7 separate regions of the Homo sapiens genome follow, and all the other regions are linked to region 4. Evidence: promoter capture Hi-C in 16 types of primary human blood cells and fetal thymus (Javierre and others, 2016). All regions are on one chromosome and are shown on one strand. The core of a region is centred on a gene start or on the middle of the fragment in contact, and the rest is flanking DNA. Distances in the headings are between cores, read along the strand shown.

Evidence for each region. The method cuts DNA at HindIII sites, captures the fragments that hold promoters and counts their contacts. A CHiCAGO score of 5 or more calls a contact.
Region 1: a fragment that was not itself captured here is called in contact with the fragment with the promoter of GDF7 in region 4 in 1 of 17 cell types (neutrophils); the score reaches 5.8 in neutrophils.
Region 2: a contact is called between a fragment that was not itself captured here and the fragment with the promoter of GDF7 in region 4, in 2 of 17 cell types (megakaryocytes and endothelial precursors). The highest score is 7.6, in megakaryocytes.
Region 3: a contact is called between a fragment that was not itself captured here and the fragment with the promoter of GDF7 in region 4, in 1 of 17 cell types (neutrophils). The highest score is 7.2, in neutrophils.
Region 5: a fragment that was not itself captured here is called in contact with the fragment with the promoter of GDF7 in region 4 in 14 of 17 cell types (megakaryocytes, naive B cells, erythroblasts and 11 more); the score reaches 9.5 in megakaryocytes.
Region 6: a fragment that was not itself captured here is called in contact with the fragment with the promoter of GDF7 in region 4 in 2 of 17 cell types (neutrophils and monocytes); the score reaches 11.1 in neutrophils.
Region 7: a contact is called between a fragment that was not itself captured here and the fragment with the promoter of GDF7 in region 4, in 3 of 17 cell types (neutrophils, monocytes and naive B cells). The highest score is 9.5, in neutrophils.

The regions. Positions count from the first base shown.
Region 1 is chr2:20,220,688-20,223,387 of GRCh38, forward strand. All of the region lies in intron 1 of SDC1 (syndecan 1), which reads right to left. Among named protein-coding and RNA genes, the nearest start is that of SDC1, 3.1 kb to the right of the region's middle. RefSeq lists enhancers at 1,637-2,144, 2,145-2,651. The HindIII fragment of the contact is 791 bases long and covers 1,031-1,821 here.
Region 2 is chr2:21,164,004-21,166,703 of GRCh38, forward strand. No RefSeq gene overlaps it. Among named protein-coding and RNA genes, the nearest start is that of TDRD15, 41 kb to the left of the region's middle. The HindIII fragment of the contact is 590 bases long and covers 1,004-1,593 here.
Region 3 is chr2:20,258,187-20,261,037 of GRCh38, forward strand. PUM2 (pumilio RNA binding family member 2) reads right to left here. Exons shown (of 21, transcript NM_015317.5): 15 at 2,151-2,280; 16 at 57-185. Among named protein-coding and RNA genes, the nearest start is that of SDC1, 34 kb to the left of the region's middle. The HindIII fragment of the contact is 4,669 bases long and covers 1-2,851 here.
Region 4 is chr2:20,665,862-20,668,748 of GRCh38, forward strand. It overlaps GDF7 (growth differentiation factor 7), which reads left to right and starts at 1,283. Exons shown (of 2, transcript NM_182828.4): 1 at 1,283-1,769. The coding sequence starts at 1,379. RefSeq lists enhancers at 26-856, 1,843-1,962 and silencers at 943-1,052, 1,123-1,172, 1,213-1,362. The HindIII fragment of the contact is 16,143 bases long and covers 1-2,887 here.
Region 5 is chr2:20,986,647-20,989,550 of GRCh38, forward strand. No RefSeq gene overlaps it. Among named protein-coding and RNA genes, the nearest start is that of APOB, 56 kb to the right of the region's middle. RefSeq lists enhancers at 2,227-2,728, 2,729-2,904. The HindIII fragment of the contact is 899 bases long and covers 1,017-1,915 here.
Region 6 is chr2:20,281,173-20,284,014 of GRCh38, forward strand. It overlaps PUM2 (pumilio RNA binding family member 2), which reads right to left. Exons shown (of 21, transcript NM_015317.5): 11 at 2,171-2,314; 12 at 1,775-2,059. Among named protein-coding and RNA genes, the nearest start is that of SDC1, 57 kb to the left of the region's middle. The HindIII fragment of the contact is 9,280 bases long and covers 1-2,842 here.
Region 7 is chr2:20,237,359-20,240,058 of GRCh38, forward strand. It overlaps the pseudogene DRG1P1. Among named protein-coding and RNA genes, the nearest start is that of SDC1, 14 kb to the left of the region's middle. The HindIII fragment of the contact is 1,606 bases long and covers 608-2,213 here.

The DNA.
Region 1 (2,700 bases), core at 176-2,675, 450 kb before region 4:
AGATGAGGACAACAAGACTTGGAAGGAAAGTGACTCACCCCAGATTATGGAGTAAATTAGTGGCAGAGTTGAGACTCAGTCCTGGGGCTCTACTTAATCCAAAGCCATTTCTGGCCTGTCACACAGTATGGATGCACATTATATAGAAACAGGAACTAAAATCCAAATCAAACATGTGGTGAAGAGTTGGGGGCATGACCGAAGCTGAGAGTAACAGTCAAGGCTAAAGAATAATGGCCCTCAGCTGGTCAGTCCAGCTACCTGTGACCAGCAAGTCACTTACAAGTCAAACCAGGTCGAGGAACTTGGAACATGGGGGTCAGCAAGCACTTCCCCCAAGAGATGACTCATTTTTCTCCACTGAGAGAGGCCCCTAAAGGCCTCACCTTGGCAGCACCTCTTTGTTACTCTAGGTGGGGTGCAGGGAGGTAGAGGGGAGACTGCAACAGGTCCCAGCTGAAGTTCATGAAGGGTACAAAATCCACATATCACAGATCATCAGTCTCACTCACAGGCAAGGCCCTTACCCAGAGCCTAAAACTCTCAGCTTGGAAATAAGCCTAACTCATCTGATTAGTTTCTTAGTGCCACTGGAGAAAAGTAACAAATTAGAACTGATCAGAAAAGCTGCTGGCTACACTCAGGCACATAAATGTCACTTCTGGCTGCTCTCTGGAAAAAGGAGAAAGACCAGAATTCAAAACAGAGCAACCTGGGGCACCAGGCAGAGGGGCAAAGTGCTCTTCAGAGCACAGTAAATCCAGGAGACAATGTCCTAACCCAGCACAATGATGAGGAGGACGACCCTGGCAGGCAGAGATTAAATCATGCCTAGCATTTTTTGGTTGATAAAGGAAGGGAAATAAATACTTCAGAGAGTCATGCCCAGAGTAAGAATACTCGAGGGTAATAGGGATTCTTAGCTTGATGAAAAAATATGAATACACAGGACACCTCATTCCCAAGGGATTTCAGGAATCCAAAATTCTGCTGCAACAGAAAAGATTCCTCTAAAAAACTGCAGAAGTCAAGCTTTTCATTAATTCTTTCCAGGCTCTCTCCTTTCTTACTGTCTCCCTACCAATGTGTGTTAATGAGGTTTTACTGGAACCCATCATGAGCCACAGGTAGAGACTTAAACCGCTCCACCCTCCCTGTAGAGCTGAAGCCAGGGATGACATCACTTCTAGAAGGCTCTGAGCCTGAGCGGAGGCAGCTAGTGCCTCCCCCCATACCCTCTCTGCCAGGCTGTGGGAAAATGTCTCTACTAGCCCCCATAATTAGGGCAAAAGGGATTTTATGCCTTTCAAGAAAGAGAAGAGAGAAAGAATGAAAAATAGCAAATAACTATTCCAGAACAAGCCATTTTTCTTACATGGCAGAAACAAAAGACCACAGTAAACACACACACACACACACACACAGAGAGAAAGAGAGAGAGAAACCTTTTTAGACAAACCTGTTTTAGTCTCTTGGGAGTGGTTTTGAGCAACCTCCTCTCCTAGCAGCCTCCCCTCACCCATTCAGTCACTCCTTGCTTCCCTGGTCCCCAGGGGGTTTCTGACCTGCTTCCCACTGGGGCCAGAGTGAACTTTCAGAGAGGGTCAGATCTCTGCCACTTGCAAATACCTTCTCCCATCTTAAAGCAAATCCCAGCTGCCTGATTTCTTTTAGGAAAGGGGTATCAGAGCTTTGGGAAGGCAGTGCATGCCCCCACCTTTAACCTAACATGGACATTCACTGTAAGAGGAAGAGGGCAGAACTGGGAAAGAGAAAACAAACTAATCTTTGTAAGATCAGAAAAAGCAAAAAGAACACCTAAGCTTCAAGCCAGAGTCTGACCCCAAAGCTCAGGTGGGGCTTTCAGGCTCAGCTCAAGCACCTCCTCCAGGAAGCCTTCCCTCCCTGCAGCTCCAGGGAGTCTCCCTCCTTTCCCCTTTTGAGACTCTCCTGCCTCCTGGGCCCTATGTCCAAGTTTCTGGGCAAGAAATAATGCCTCACACTGCAGCATCTGCCCCAGCCCACAGAAAACTCCAGGAAAGGCAGTTCACGGGGAAGCCCAAACTCCACCTGCCTCCCCAGCATTAACGGGTGCGGTGGGATCCCAGGGCTCTGGAATGTCTGCTTTACCCCAGGCAGGCAAGGGAACCAGCAGCCCTCCTAAATCCAGCCGGAAATAGGTGGAGGACCCAACTTCAGCCGCCCCTGCTGAGGCCCCATCATGTGCGAGAATGGGGCAGTGAGGTGATGCCCAGCGGTCCAGGGAGGTAAGGCACCCAGCTCCATTCTCTTCTCCAAACTCGGAGCGAAGACTCCAAGCACAGTCTCAGTTCCACAGAAACCACCACCCTAGAGAGCAGCTTCTTGGACCTGAAAGCCAGGAGTGCATGAGACCCAGCTCGGAAATCATGGCCCTCCCCGTGCTCCCAGATACCCCTCACAGTCCAGCCCATTCACAGTTCAATAGGCACAGGGACCTCTCCTGGACCGGAAAATGTCTGGAAGCACGAGTCACCTGGGAAGCAGGGAGGGCGCTTTACACATCGGTCTCAGAAACGACTGTCCCTACCTCATCTCCCATGAGACAGACTCTGTAAAGAAAAAAAAAACCAAAGCGCTCAATAACTGGCAGCTACTACACGAGGCAACGCTTACGGAGGGTCAGCGCTGCTGAGACTTGTCCAGATGCCACATTAGCAG
Region 2 (2,700 bases), core at 49-2,548, 500 kb after region 4:
TGAATTGAGCTATAGTTTAGCAGTAGTTCATATTGGCTGGAGATGACGTTGATTTGACCAATTTATGGAACAGGCTTCCCCTTCCCCTCCCCGCCCTTAAATTGTCTGTCAGGTGATCCTAGGAAATCCTTCCAGGAAGACAAAAGAGAAGTGTGTGATTTTTGAGTGTCTGAATGTCATATCAATTTTAGATTCCTGGGTTAAATCCCACTTAGATGTGCTATATAATCTTGTTAATATCTTGCTGAATTTGGTGCTAATATTTTGTTAAGGAATTTTGCATCTGTATTTATAAGTAATACCGGTATATAGATTTATGGTTTTTAAATCATGTCTTTGTCTGGATTTCGTATCAGGATGCCAATGGGTTGGGAAATGACTGAAAACATTTTTGTAGGGTTGGTATTATTTCTTTCTTCAAAATTTAATCGTATTTACCAGTAAAGTAATCTGAACATGGACTTTTCTTTGTGGGAAAATTGTTAATTACTAATTTAAATTTTATCAAGTTATGTAACTATCACTATAAATAAGTTTCAATACATTTTTATCACTGCATTGTCATTCCTGTGTCACATTACTGTTAATCCCTATGTACTGTCTTGCCTCTACCCTCTGCTACAGGAAAATGCTAATATCTGTCTTTAAAGCTTGCTCTTTTCTGAATATTTTATGTAAGTGGAATCACACAGTATATGGTCTCTTCTGTCTGACTCCTTTCACTAAACAAAATTTTTTTGAGATTCATCCATCTCATAGCATCTGTCAATAGTTCATTCCTTTTTATTGCTGAATAATATTCCATTCAGTAAACATATCACATTTCAGTCATTTCTAAGTTTTGGTTTGTGATTATGATTATGATTATTGCTGCTAGAAACATATGTATGCAAGCCATTAGTAGATACTGTTGGTACAGTAAGAATGAAGAGACTTGGTAGTGAGTAAAGTAAGAGTTTCAGTGAAAAAGTTTGTGATGCATTTTTTTTTCTGCCTAGAAGCAAGCTTCCTTGTTTATTTACTTGGTTTTGGGATACTAAGTCATGTGACTGTATCTGAGTTTCTAGATAGTGGATGTGTCACTGTATATTACTTTGCACTGGTTTATTTATAACATTCTGCTTAATTTGCATTTTGTTCTCTCCTACTTGGTTAAAAACTCAATAAATGTAATGATTCTTTCAGTTTGCCTCCATATTTTATACATAATACATGAGATAAATATATATTGATTAATTGAATTTAAAATTTTATCATCTCTTCAAAGGGCGTATTTCATGAGCTTTTAAAAATAATGTGAAAACACTACGGATATCTTAGTAAATAGGGACTATAGGTTCCCTATTTACTAAGGGATTAATTAACCAATATTCCCTTTATTAATAAGGCTTATAGTCTGACTTTTAAGGAACTGTATTTCTCTTTTGGTAATCTGTACTTCTAATTTGAATTTGAATATTGTACAAGTCAAATATACTAAGAGGTAAAGATTGCAGATAAAAGAGCAAATTTTCCCAGCAGTTAAGAAAATGTTTCTATATTTTTTTGGGGTGGTTTTACTGACATCTAGTGGCATTCAGTCCTATATATTTAAGCTTGCTTTATTTCTACTTGTCTTTCCATGACTATTTTATGTTTTAAAACTTAAGGAAAAAGCCAGTTCAGGTGTCTAACGTGAGGATAGCATTTTTTTGAGGATTCATGATATTATGCATATACCTTGTATATTATTTGACATAAATGGATAAATATGACTATGTCATTCATTCCTAAGTGCAGTTTTTTCCTGTACTTTTTCATTTCCTTTATTTGCTTGGATTTCCTTTCCTCCTCCTTTCCTCATTGATATAATCCCTCCCTTGCCCTGAGGTAGGTCATTATAACACTAGAGATTTTCTCCATGTGCATGTAAATCAATGACTGAGTGATTATACGTCTATAAATACATATATACAAGTTACAAATTTGTGTTATTTGTTCTAGAAAAATAAGATCATACATAATTCTTTGCATTTTGCTTTTCTTAGCTTACCTCTTGAAAATCTTTTTAAGATAGGTAATGTAGTTCTATTTGTTCTTTTAAATGTATGCATACTATTTAAAATTGTGGATGTATTTTAATTTTGTTTTCAGTAACTTTTCTATTGGTGACTACTCATCATTAATTTTTTTTTTTTTTGCCACATTGAGGATACTTACATTACACATCCATGCCTATATATCCTTACATAGAGTAACTTTGACTCTTTGAGATAGCTTTTTATCAGTGAGATTGCTGGGTGAAAGAATGTGTTTAATTTTAATAGATGTTATCATATTGCTTTCAAAAACAGCTGAAATATCTTTGAGCAATGTATGAGAATACCTTCCCCACATCACCATTACTAAAATAGAATTTTTGGTATCTTAATTATAAAATAGTGTCACAAATAAAAGAAATATTTTAATATATTCTTTAGATTTATTTCATTTTTTCTTATAGCATGTGTTAAAATTTCCAAGAAAATGATTAATAGTATTGATTGTGAATACTACTCTAGTTACTGATTTAAATTGAAGTGGATTTAGTTTTAGAATATAGGATATTTGCTCTTGGTTTTTAATACATGTTTTTAAAGTTTATATTTAACTAGTTTCCTTCTAATTTTATTCTACTTAGAGTTTTTGTTATGAAGAGCTGCTGAATAGTATTAAATACCT
Region 3 (2,851 bases), core at 103-2,602, 410 kb before region 4:
AATAATTTAAAAATTGAATAAAATAATACAAAAATTTTGTCTTAACTTACAATTACCTGCTGGTCAGAAGAAATAGATTCTAATGCTTTCTGAATAACGCGGCAGCCATACATCTGCAAGGCTAAGGGTAGAACATGACCACGAATACGAGTAGCCAGGGCTAATTTTTGATCCAGACTCCCAAACTGACAGAAAAGATATAACATTAATAACAAGTGACCTTAATATTGCTTTGTTGAACTTGAGTAAGGCAGTGTTTGCAGTCTATTCATTCTATCAGTAACTATGTAGGGCAGGGGCTTTAAGGTAGAAGCTAATTAAGATAGACTGGGAAATGTTTCCAATAATAATTTTTTATTACTTCTTTGGGTTAAGTCTTACTAAAATTTCCTTGTTACTAATATGTTAACTACCTTTTAAAGAAACACTCTTTTAAAGTGAACATCTTTACAAAACCCTTCATCTTTTTTTTTTTTTTTTTTTTTTTTTGTTGAGACGGAGTCTCGCTCTGTCGCCCAGGCTGGACTGCGGACTGCAGTGGCACAATCTCGGCTCACTGCAAGCTCTGCTTCCCGGGTTCACGCCATTCTCCTGCCTCAGCCTCCCGAGTAGCTGGGACTACAGGCGCCCGCCACCGCGCCCGGCTAATTTTTTGTATTTTTAGTAGAGACGGGGTTTCACCTTGTTAGCCAGGATGGTCTCGATCTCCTGACCTCATGATCCACCCGCCTCGGCCTCCCAAAGTGCTGGGATTACAGGCGTGAGCCACCGCGCCCGGCCAAAACCCTTCATCTTTAATATATAACTTTCTTAGCCATACGTTGACCACCAAAACTCTTCACCCAGATAATCATCAAACTACATTCTGATATGATTGAGGAAAAAACTGTTAAAGTCATTAAGCTACAACACAGATGCTTATAAATTTAAAAATTGGCTAAACTGTAAAATAACACACATCTATAAATCCAAAGACTATAGTGTTATTCATTAACTACTTTACCAAAGATTGACTACCAATGCTTTATATTTTCAAATATGAATCAGGATTAATAGCAAATTTTCATTTAAAGTGGTTCATGTTAAAATTTTTTTTGTGACAAACTGCCATTTGAACCATTTTTAGCTAGGTGATTGAGTAGCATTAATTATATTCACACTGTTGTGCAACCACCATCACTATCACTATTTGTTTCCAAATCTTTTCCGTGGCCTCAAACACAAATGCTGTATCCATTAAATGGTAACTTTCTAAACCCTTCTTCCTCTAGGCCCAGTAACCCCTAATCTACTTTATGCCACTATTAGTTATTCTAGACATTTCATACTGGTAGATCACTATCAATGTTTGTCCTTTTGTGTGTGGCTTGTTTCACTTAAGTTAGTATTTTCAAGGTCCATCCATGTTGTAGTATGTATCAGAACGTCATTCCTTTTTATGGCTGAATAATATTCTATAATGTATACATATACCACTTGTATTTATCTACTCATCTGTTGACGGACACTTGGGCTGTTTCCGCCTTTTGGCTATCGTGAATAATGGTGCAATATATACTGGTGTTCAGGTTCCTGCTTTCAATTCATTTGCTTTCAATTGTACCCCTAGGAGTACAATTGCTGGATTGTGTGGTGATTCAATATTTAATTTTGAGAAACTGCCAAACTGTTTTCCATAGCAGCTACACCATTTTACATTTCCACCAGCAATTTATGAGGGCTCTAATTTCTCCATATCCTCATCCACATTTGTTATTTTCCGATTTTATGTTTTCCGATTACAGTCATCTTAGTAGGTATAAAATGGTATCTCATTGTGAGATTGATCTGCATTTCCCTGATTAGTAAGGATGTTGAGCATCTTTTCATGGCCTATGTGGCCTTTTGTATTATTTTACATAGAGAAATGTCTGTGCAAGTCCTTTGTCCATTTGTCATTTGGGTTGTCTTTTTGTTGTTGACTTTTTAGGAGTTCATTACAATATATCCTGGATAAAATGTTTACCGCATATATAATTTGTAAATATCTTATCCCTGGCTTATTATCTTTTTTTATATGAAAATGACTTTACCCAACTTTCAGAGCTTTTCTTAGCATCAAGTATACAACAGCTGGATGGGCGGATATACAAATATGCATGAATCCTTACCTCAAAAAACTTCTGTATAACATAGTTGCCAAAAACATCAGTCATTAATTGATAGGCTGCTTGCAGAATTTCATTAAATACCATCTGTCGCTCAGCTGGAGTAGCTCTCTCTAGTTTTTGCTGTATGAATCTACATAGGGAACATTTTTAATATGACAATATGTTTTTTAATACACTTGAGTATTACACCCTACCCTTCCACATATATGCACTGCAAGTTATTTCCATAAATATTACCATACTTTATATAGTAGACAGCTAACTTACAGCAAAAAGGACAAAAGTTATATAGCATTTCTTTATAACACCTTATCTAAAGATAGAGTGACAAAAAACCTGGATATAAAGATGTTTAATCTTTCTTAGGTTGGTTACATTATAATCAATAAGAAAATTACGTAAATTTTGCTGCTTATTCATTTATTTTTCATAATATACAATGTATTACTAAACATCTAACTTTTAGAACATAATAAAGGAAACCCTTAGAAGTAAAATTCATCCAACATGAATGAATTCCTAAGCAAGAAAGCCATTCTGGGTGACACAAGGCTCATTTGTTACTCTGAAGGAACTACCAACTACAGTCATGCACTGCTTAACCACATTTCAATTGACAACAAGCCACATATACAATGGTGGTCCCATAAGATTATAATGGAGATAAATTCCTATTGGGTAGGAACTGTCATAACATCATA
Region 4 (2,887 bases), core at 33-2,532:
CGGGCGACCTCGCTTTGAAGCTGATCACCCGCTCAAGGTGATCACGACGTGCCGACCCAGTCTAGATTTTGAGTTCTGCAGAAAATGCAATTTTAAAGGAAAAGGACCCGCCTGCCCTTCTTCGGCAGTTCGTTTGGCCCAGGCCTTCGATCAGCTGAAAGTTTCCGATCTAGGGGGATGTCCAGGCTGCCGGCGGAGCAGAGCCGATAACCCCCCTCTCCTGCGCGTTCCCCTGAGACTTGGCCTCCGCAACCTGTCCCAGCCGCGGAGCAAACTGCTCTGCGGCCCGCGCGAGTGCGCCCCAGGGCTTCGCCGCTGCCGGGCGTCCCCTCCATCCACCTCGGGACCCGCGCCATCACCGCGGCGGGGTAAGAAGCTCGGAGGCGCCATCCCGGGGCTCTGCGCCGTCCGCTCTCCCGGCTCCTGGCCGCTCACGCACACAGCCGGTAGCTGGTTTTCGTTAGCCGCTGCCCTCGCCCAGAAGGCGGGTGGAAGGTCGCCAGTTGGACGCACAGCCAAACTCTTAGCGCACTCCCGCGCGAGATCCCCCATCACCCGGGGCTGCCGTCCTCATTTCGAGCTCTTTCTAGAGCTTGGCTCCCGCTGAAGCGCAACTTCCGCGCCCAAACCTTGCTTTTACGACGGGCGGTCCGCGTCCAAAGGTCTCTTACAGGCCTGCCCTTTCAGCTCCTCGCCCTCCCTTCCTCCCCTACCGGCCCCCTCCCCTGCTCTGGCCGCCCGCTGCAATCCTTTGGGGTCTGTGGCTGAGTGGGGAACCGCCGACCCGCGATCCGGAACGCGACTTTGAGGCCGCCGGGAGCATCCTGTGGCCTCTCTCTGCGCGGCCACCCGGCCGCGGCGCGAAGCGGTCTGGAGGGCGAGCCCTTCCGCGGCCCCAACTCTGCCGCCCCGTTCCCGGCATTGGGAACCAGGGCAGGGAGGGGGCGGGTGTTTCTCTGCGGGGGAGTGGGGAGGAAGCTGGGCGGGTGCGCGCGGTGCCCCGAGCCTGGAACCACGGAGGGCGCGTTGGTCTTGGGCGGATGGAGGGGGTGTCGCACTGCCGCGGGGAGGCGTGTCGGGAGGCTGGGGCCAGTGGCAGTCGCTTGGCGAGGGTGGGGGCGTAGCGCTGCGGTGGGAGGAGGCGGCTCCGGCCCTGGTCTCCACTCTAGGCCGGGGTGGGGGGCGCATAGCGGCCGCCGGAGCTTTCAGCAGGGGGCGCTGCTCCGGGCGTTGGGCGGGGGTGGGGTGGGCCAGGAGGGGGGGCCGCGGGCTGGCCGCGCACACTTCCCCCATTATTAAACACTATGTTCAAAAGGCGCCGGGGGACTTCCCGGAGCCACGGAGCCCGCGCCGCCCGCCCGCCCGGCCCACGGAGCCCATGGACCTGAGCGCCGCCGCCGCGCTGTGCCTTTGGCTGCTGAGCGCCTGCCGCCCCCGCGACGGGCTGGAAGCGGCCGCCGTGCTGCGAGCGGCGGGGGCTGGGCCGGTCCGGAGCCCAGGGGGCGGCGGCGGCGGCGGCGGCGGCGGGCGGACTCTTGCCCAGGCTGCGGGCGCCGCGGCTGTCCCGGCCGCCGCGGTTCCCCGGGCCCGCGCCGCGCGCCGCGCCGCGGGCTCCGGCTTCAGGAACGGCTCGGTGGTGCCGCACCACTTCATGATGTCGCTTTACCGGAGCCTGGCCGGGAGGGCTCCGGCCGGGGCAGCCGCTGTCTCCGCCTCGGGCCATGGTCGCGCGGACACGATCACCGGCTTCACAGACCAGGCGACCCAAGGTACTTACGCCTCTTCTGTGCCCGCCCATCCCGTCAGGTCCTGGGCTGAGACCAGCCCCGGAGCCGTGCCGCAGCTCCGTTACATTTGGAGCCGCGGCCCCATGCGGCCCACCCTCAGGTGATAGAAAGAAACTTCGCCGAGGCCAACACTCTCCAGCCCGCTGCACCTGGACTGTGGCGAGAGTCGCGGCAGCTCCCGGGGCCCAGTCCCAGAGGGCTGACTGGTCCCTCTCCCAGGTCTCCCTGGCCTTGCAGGCCGGCTGGTCCCCTCGAGGAGGCAGGCGGAGGCCAAGATTCGCTTCTTGGGGAATGGTCTGGAGTGGCCTCGGAGCCCTCAGAGAAGAAAGGAGGGCAAGAGCTGTGTTCCCGGGAGTCACGGCGAGAGGGACTGCACGGTGGTGAGGGTGATGGCTCCTTCCTTGCAGCAATTTCTGCAGCTCCCAGTCTCCTGCGGGCCACACAAATTGGGGGAAGCCCAGGGAAAACTAGGGCAGAGGCAGGTATCAGACTAAAGTAAATGGCCCTGGAGAGGCTGGTGGCATAACCAGGTATGAGGAGTGCCCTGCTCAGCAGGTTGGTCTGGGTGGTGGTGGTTTGTGTGTGTGTGACATGTGCAGCTATGGGTGCCTGTGTCTGGTGCTGGGCCCCTGGGAGAGCCAGAGGTCAAGGATCCTGGTGGTGTGGGGAGGAGAGGCCTGCTGGGGACCCTGCAGGAATGCAGGCCTCTCTTAGACTAAGCACCCCACCTTGTTCTGCCCTGGGCCTTCCAAAGGTAAGATGTAGGTGAGGCTGTGGTGTGGCTGCTGTATGTCATCTGGATTTTATTAATCTCCATTGAAATCATTAAAGCAGACAGATAGAGAAAATTTACCTAATTTCAGGCGGAAATGCAAGTAATTTCGGCCTTAATTCTATCCAGCCAGAGACCCAGCATGGAGGGCAGGAGGGAAAGAAAGGCGAATAGGGCTGGGAAGTGAGCGGGTGGGGCTGAGGCAGCCCTGCTTGGGAGCCACTGACAGTCAGCATACCTCAGGTCCTAGCCTGGGAAGGCAGGCAGAGGCCTTGCAAGTGACCAGGTCATCCATCCCTGCCAGCACATGCCCAGTGCCTAGCACAGA
Region 5 (2,904 bases), core at 216-2,715, 320 kb after region 4:
GAGAACATGGGGATGACAAAGCACTGGCATCTCACAGAAACACCACGAGGATCTTGGCACATGGGGACTATGATTCTGTTTCACCCTTGGAGAGGTTAAGCCATGCTGTAAATCTTTTTGCGCCTGCAGTGCCATAGCTCTGACTTGCGCAAGGTCATGTAACAAGCTAGAGTCTTGTTGCTAGACTTCTAGTGCAGTGCTTTTTGTGTGCTGAGCTCTTTGGAACCCTCTGTCTCCTGAGCAGGTCTGTGGGGTGGCTCTTCCTGTCTTAGGACCAAACTGTTGAAATTTGGAGGACACTGGGGGTATGCATGTGTTCATGTATGTGTGCATGTGGACATGGGGGGGTGCATCTGTTCATGTATGTGTGCATGCATGCATACATTTATGCAGATATGTGTATCTGCACGTGCATGTGTTTGTGTGTGTGTGCACAAGCCTGTGTCTGTATGTAGGTGTTTCTGCATTTCTGTGTCCTCCGTGTGCATGTGTTGGGCCAGGAGTCAATGTAATGTGTACACCTATATGCCTGTGTCTATATGCTTCGGTTACCATTACCAAGGGCCCTACTCAGGATGTTTAGTACCCAGCCTACCACAGTCACTGACCAATCAGAATAAACACTGTCAGTAACTCAGCATTGGCTGGAGTCCTGGGAGGCCAGAGGGTCCTGCGGGAGAAGCCGGAATGACTGGGGTATGTGTGAGAGTTTGGGGAGCTTGGGGGGCAGCCCCTATATACGAATTGGTCCAAAAGTACTTCAATACTTTAACGGCTGGCATGGCCTTCCTTGTGCTAATTGGAAGAATATCAGTCCTTCTGTCCTCAGAAATAAACCTGGGTAAGTGATTAGGAAGATGTGTGCCGGTTAATGTTTGATTTTCAACAAAAGGAATGACACAATTGAATTTGACAAGTTAGAGTACTCTGTTGGCTCTAGACAAGTTATTTAATCCCCCTGAAAAATTGGGATGATCATACCTACCTTTGTATAAGGTTGGTGTAAGGGTGAAATAAGCTTACACCCATATGGTGTGCCTGGCACGTGGAAGTTGTTACTATTATTGGTGTCATCAGTTTTATTATAAAATGGCACAGTGAATGTTTCCAGGTATGATTTTGGAGATCACACAGATCTGGAGTTTATGCCTACTCGGCTGTTCATAAGTTTTAAAAGTGAAGCTACTTAACCTTTTTGAGTCTCAGTTTCCCCGTCTGTAAAATAAAGACACAGGATGTTACTATGCATTTGTTGCAGCACTATTAACATGGCCTTGCAAGAAGTGATCTGGAGCTGAGCTCTGTTAAATTACTCCTGATGATGACGGTGATGGTAATGATGATACTATAGGGGCTCCCCTCTGAAGTCTGCCAGAATCTGAAGGCCTTTAGAGATCACTCGGTCCTATTGTTTATTTGCACAGATGAGACTGATGTGGTCTGTGGAGGTGTGATGGGGGCCTGACCTCAGGCCTCCCTGGGGCTGCGACCTGCGGGCCCACTGAGGCATGAGCAACCTCCAGCTGGGAATGGCCTCCCCACGTTGCTGAGCCCTGGGCTGCACAGCCGACTTTGGGACTTGGAGAGACATCAGTGCCGGATGATGTGCATTTCATTACTTTCAATAGATGTGTAGGTTGTTGTTGAAGACTGATAACTTGCTCCTGTTCATCACACGTGTGCTGTGGCAGACACCCTCCAGGGATTTGGGCTTTGAGTGACTTCAGGGTGGGAGAGGAGAAAAGAGGGCATCACTGGACCTCTTCCCTGGTGGATGGAACAGCGGCATGGCTTGTCCAGGTTAGCAGGCTATGCCGGCCTGGTCCCCTGAGAAACCTCCTCCCCACATTTTGAGGCCTGCATACATGCTGCCCTTAAGTATGTATGGCAGAGGCAGAAACTCAACAGAGACATAAGCTTCCCAGCATCAGGTACCAAACATGACAGAAACCTATTGCGACTTTAGGAGATGGTGAGAGAGGTAGAGGTGTTTGATGGGTACTCAGGGATGATCAGATAAAAGCACTTGGGCAGCATTTACATTGCATGACACTAGTCTGAGAAGTTTACACAATGAACTTCTAAGTCTTCACCAGAACCCTCTGAGGTAGTGCAATGATTATTCCCGTTTTATATATGCAGAAGTGGAGGCACAGAACAGCTCCCTAACCTGTCCAAGGTTACCCCTAAGTGCACAAGAGAGCTGGAATTAGAACTCAGGCAGTTGGGCCTGGAGTCTGTTCTTTTCGTGTTCTCAGTTGGAGGCTGGGACAGAAGGACACAGCCTCTTTCCCTTGGTGAGATTTGGGCTGAATGCTGGGAAACTGTGAGCAAGGACATTTTCTCCAGGCAAAGAGAACAGCCCTGGAGCTTCGAGGAGGGCCTGGGCCACTCACTCTGCATTCCTCAGCCAGCAGCCACACTCAGTTGCCTGGTGAGCCTCTGGAGAACGCCAGGGCATCATCAATCACAGCATGGCCCCTCCTGGGGACTGGCCCCGCCTCACCCTGCCTTTCCTCACTCACTTGCTGAGTTCTCACGGAGAAAGGGATGGGAAGGGAGCACAGCCTTCCCTTGAAGCACTGGCTCCTGGCATCCATGAAGATGTGTGGTTGGGACCAATTCTGCCCTGAAGTTGATCAACAGGGTTATGTTGAGCCCCTGCCAGGAGCTTGGGACCCCAGTCATGGGCTATGGAAGGGATGAGACCCGTGAAACCCAGGCCCAGCCAAGGGAGGGCACGGGACAAACTAATAGGAGGAAAGAGGGCAGTTGGCTTAGAGAAGGGGGAGGTCTGCAGGTTGGGAGATTGGGGGTCCCAGAGGAGGGGGCCTCTGGGAGCCTTTTTGGGGCAAGGAAGTGAGTGAAGGGGTGGCATCCCACTGAGAAAAGAAAGGGAAGGGG
Region 6 (2,842 bases), core at 310-2,809, 380 kb before region 4:
CATTCAGGGGTGGCAATCACTAATGCTCTCTAAAGCAAGGTAAAATGAAGCTCTTACAGATTGGAGTCAGAATTAAGTAAGCCATGCTTGTAAATAATGGAGGTGTGAAGGTTAGTTTTGGGGAAACAGGGCATCTGTAGTGGACAAAATGTTCATGTCAATCAATTCCTGAAAGGGGGAAAACAGCCTTAACTAAGAAACAAATGGAAATTTGAAAGAATTGAGTAGGGGCCTAGAAATCTGAACCAGACGATCAGTGACATACTACGTGAGAAAGGAAACATGGGGTTTAATCAATGCTCTCTTTTTTCTGAATTATTTAGGGCCTACAATTTATAATTTAAAAACTATTTCCACAAGTTTGTTTTTTATGTTACTTGTTCTTCCAGTTTTCCTCAGAATATTTAGGATTCTTTGGAGAAAATGTCCCAATTGTGTTAGAAACAAGGAATGAGTCCTATGGGAGTGCGTGAGGTGGACAAAGAGATACACAACTCCAAAAGCAATGAAAAAACTCAAGTACAAAATTGAAAAGATTTAACAATCCCCATGTTCACTGGATTTTCCCTCAGAAATTCTTATGAGCAGTCTTCAGATAATTTTGTGTCAGTCCAATATGACATCCACTTATTGTATTTCATTACAATAAATGAAAAAAGATTCTGCCATCTAAAAGTTTGTGGCTGTTCTAGACCATCCTTCCTGTATATATGAATGATAAAAGTTCAGAAGACACTCCCTTAGAAAACTGGCAAGCATTGTTAATAATGCCTGGCATGTGTTAGTTCTGCCATTTTCCACACCAGAAAAGAATATAATTTGATGTGGTAAGAAAAGAGATCAGAAACAGATATTAAGGACTGTAGCAAGTTATGTTATAGAAACAGAAAATCTCTTGAGGTCCAAATAGTCCTATCCTCATGAAGTAAAAGCTGCCAGCTGCACCGATAGAACTGGGTCAGCTGTTTTTTCCCTAATGTTTCCTGAGTACTGTGGAAACCTCACAGAAAACACCAAGTGTATCAACAAGAAGTCAACGTGGGCCTCTTCTGATTTCACTTAGTTCTTCCTCTACCACAGGATCCAGGAACCAGTTTGAGTGGGTCAATTATTTAGTGAAGCTATTTAAAATTTTGATTTGTTAAGTGTTATATAAAGCTAAGATACATGAATAGATACCCTTTTAAGTGAATTTTTAGTGACAAAGGCTAACTTATTTAATCTAAAAGATAACCATACTGGTAGCTTCTTAGGGGATTCTGTGTAGAACATTTCAGTATTTATACATACACATATGTATTTTTTATATTAGGCCAAATTTAAAAACTGTAATAAACTACCAGCATTTAATAAGAATAAACCATCTAATAAGGACACAAAGATAACTGCTTTAAAATACCAAAAATTTAAGACGGCAAAATATTTGCCTCCACAAACATTATGTAGTGAATGAAGATGAGCTAATAATTAGTGAATAATATATTGACCCAAATAAACCCTACTAAAACAAAAATTACAGTAATCAATTCCTAGAGCCAGGGAAAAAGGAAATGTATTATATATGAGTAAAGAACAGGCTGCCTATAGTGAGTTAAACATTGGTGAGTGTTGAAAAGATTTGCAGGATTTTTTTTTCCTACAAATTAAACCAGTAGTCCAATACTTTATTCCTGTCCTTCCTATCCTACATGCTATTATTGCTTATTTTAATGTTAAACACACTCATATACCTCTTCCACTTAGCAGAGTACACTCATCGTAAAAACAAACTTACCTGATGAACCAAATCCACTGAGGGCTGAGCCTATAGCAGCACCCAAAGAGTTACCACTTCCAAAGCCAAGAGATGTACTTCCAGGTTGACCAGGTCCATGAGAAAATAAAGAACTACTCTGGGAGCTATTAGTCAAAGAACTGCTTCCATAAAATGAATTAGATTGCAGATTAGTGCTTGGCTGCTGTTGCTGCTGCTGTGGTGGCTGAGTGCCAATTGGCCGAAACAGACCATTTGTGCTGCCTGTAAGGCTACTTGCAGTTCCTCCAGCTGCTGCTGCTGCTGCTGTAAAATAAATTTCAGATACTTCTTTAAACCACCCAGAAAATTCTGTATTTTAAAAATGGTATCTCAACACCAGAAAAATATTATCCTAAAAATGTCAGTTACACTTACCAGCTTGTGCTGCTGCTGAACTAATTAAAACAGGTGTTGGAGCCATTAACCGAACTGGAGCTCCAAGGCCAGTCCTTGCTCCAGGGCCAACCACTAAGGCACCAGTCTGATCATAATAGGCAGTTGGAGCTAGTACTTGATAGCCTAAATAAAATAAAGGTTTACTAATGAAAGCACTTATTACAAAAACATGCATATTTGTTTTTCCCTGCATTTGTATTTTTTCAACTAGACAACACAGCTATTTGTACCATTACTATAAAATCCTTAGTTAATATATGCAAAGCAACACATTTGACAAGGTCTTACTAAATATATGAAAAAGTAATAGACTGTCATTAAACATTTTTTCTCTAAATTTTACTCAGGGGCCACAAAATGAAGAGGTATTTTCCTTAATATAGAAACTACAGGCTATGAAGGAAGGGCTGATATTAGAAAAAAAAAATCACCATTTAGCCCTTCGAAGAAGAAGGATTAAAAAAACTGGGAGTAGCGAGGTAGAACACTGTACGAAATGTTTACTGTGCAATTTCATTGAAGTTCAAAATCAAGTGCCTCATTACCAGCATTCCGTTAGATTTTCATTTGTAATCATCTCTTTAAAAACTTAAGCCAAACATTCTATTTGTGAAGATTCTCAAGCTAGAGTTTAATTAAAAATCACACAGG
Region 7 (2,700 bases), core at 161-2,660, 430 kb before region 4:
AAATTTCATTGTATATAAACACACACCACTAGCTATTGACTGTTTTAATATGAGCCTGCTTTCAATTCCTTTGGAGGTATTTCAAGAAGTGGGATTGCTGAATCACAAGGTAATTCTATTTTTAATTTTTCAAAGACGCACCATACTGTTTTTTCCACAGAGGCTTCACCAACACTTGTTATTTCCTTGTTCTTTTTTTTTTCTTTTAGTAGCTGTCTCAATGGGTGTGAAATGATATCTCATTGCAGTTTTGACTTGCATTTCCGTGATGATGACTGATGACATTGAGCATCTTTTCACATTCTTCTTGGCCATTTATATATCATCTTTGGAGAAATGTCTATTTAAGTCCTTTGTCCATTTTAAAATCACGTTGTTTTTTGTTGTTGTTGAGTTGTAGGTGTCTATGTATTCTGAATATTAACCCTTTATTATTTACATATTTGCAAATATTTTCTCCCAGTCTGTAGATTGCCTTTCCACTTTGTTGATTGTTTCCTTTGGTGCACAGACATTTTAAAGTTTGATGTAGTCTCATTTATTTAGTTTTGCTTTTGCATGTGTTTTTGCTGTCATAGCCAAATCACTGCCAAATCCAACATCACGAAGCTTTCCCCCTACATTTTCTTATAGGGTTTCACAGTTTTCGGTCTTACGTTTAGATCTTCATCCATTTTTAGTTAGTTTTGTATATGATGTAAGGTAAGGGACCAACTTTTGCATCACTTGTTGCAACGACTGTTGTTTCCTCATTGGACGGTCTTGGCACCCTTGTGGAAGATCACTTGACCATATATGCGAGGGTTTCTCCCTGGTCTGTCTATTCTCTTCCTTCGGTCTGTATGTCTGTCTTTATGCCAGTGCCACACTGTTTGGATTACTGTAGCTTTCTAATAAGTTTTGAAATCAGGAAACGTGATACCTCTGGTTTTGTTTGTTTGTTTCCTACTTCCTTAATTTCTTTAATGGTATTGATATAGTCAAGTTTCCCACTCCTCTTGAATCAATTTTGGAACTATATATTTCCCTAGAAAATTATTTATTTTGGGCTGGGTGCAGAGGCTTACACCTGTAAATCCCAGCACTTTGAAAGGCTGAGGCAGGAGGATCGCTTGAGCTCAGAGGTTTGAGACCACCCTGGGCAATGTGGCGAAAACTCATCTCTATAAAAAAATACTAAAAATTAGCTGGGTGTGGTGGAGCACACCTGTGGTCCTAGCTACTTGGGAGGCTGAGGTGGGAGGATAACTTGAGCCTGGGAGGCTGAGTTTGCAGTGAACTGTGATGGTGATCATACTACTGCACTCCAGCTTGGGTGACAGAGTGAGACTCTGTCTCAAAAAAAAAAGGAAAGAAAATTATTTATTTCATTTAATTTTTAGTTTGTAAGTAGACTTTTAATATAAATTCTCTTATAATTAAAAATCACAATTTTATATCTTCTTACTGTTTGTGTCTTTCATCTTTTTTGCTAAATTCAAATTTTCCAAAAGCATGTCTAATTCATTATTTTTAACTGGTCAAGTTTTTGTGAGTGTGTGTGTGAGTTTGTTATTAATTCCGTCCTTCCGCTTTCTTTGTAATTTTTTTTGGTCTTATTTTACTAGCTTCTTGAGTTCATTTATCTTCAGATTTTCTTGACTAAACATTTTCTTTAAATAACGTTTGGCCTGAATCCCCAGGTTTTTATATATGTCTGTCATTGCTATTAATTTGGAAATTAACCCATAATAGTTTGTTCTAGATTAGATTAGCTCTTTAAATGAGGAGTTACTAAGAAGAGTATTTTAAAAAATTTCTAGAGTAGGCATGGTGGCTCATGCCTGTAATCCCAATACTCTGGGAGGCCTAGGTGGGAGGATTGTTTGAGGCCAGGAATTCAAGGACAGCCTGGAAACATAGCGAGACCTTGTCTCAAATAAATTTTTTTCTAAGATATATTTCTAGTAACAAATATATTTATATTTTGAAGATACATGCTTTATTAATAAATATATTTCTGTTTCTAAGATCGTTTTGCCCTCCCTTTCTAATTAAATTGCATTCTATTCAGTGAATGTGTCCTGTATGATTTCAGCTTCTTGGGTTTATTAGGCTCTTCATTATGGCCTAATAAATACAAAGAAAAATATTTGGAATTTGCATACTCAACAGTTAACAACGATTAACTCTTGGGAGGGGAATGAAATTGAAAGGCAGAGACAATGAGGAGAAGCTTTTTGTTTGTTTTTATTTTGTTTGCTTTTGATTGTTGGGAAGTTTTTATACTATAAGAATTCGCTCAAGTATAATGGTTTTCTTTTTCTTTTTTTTTTTGCACATAGATGACCAGCCTACCAGGTCTTTTATGCAGTTCGACATACAAGGTGACAGCAAGGTAAGACTAACGAAGTGCCAGTTTTGGTGCCTCCATCTCCCTCCCCTGGATCCTGATCCAGTGACTGCCAAAACCAGAAGGAACTGGGGTAGGGTGCTTGATCATGGGGAAGGCTGCTGTGGTTCGCCCGGTAGATGGGAAAAGGAAAAGGTTGCACTTCTTCACAATTTGAATGACATCCTTGTCCTCCAACGTATGGTCTTTACCCACTTTTTGAGGATTGTGTTTCACAGAGAGACCCCAGACCAGAGCATATTTAAATTCTTTGATAAGATTTTTGTGAATCTTCATGCAGAAATCTCCACTGTGGTCCTGGAGTAAGG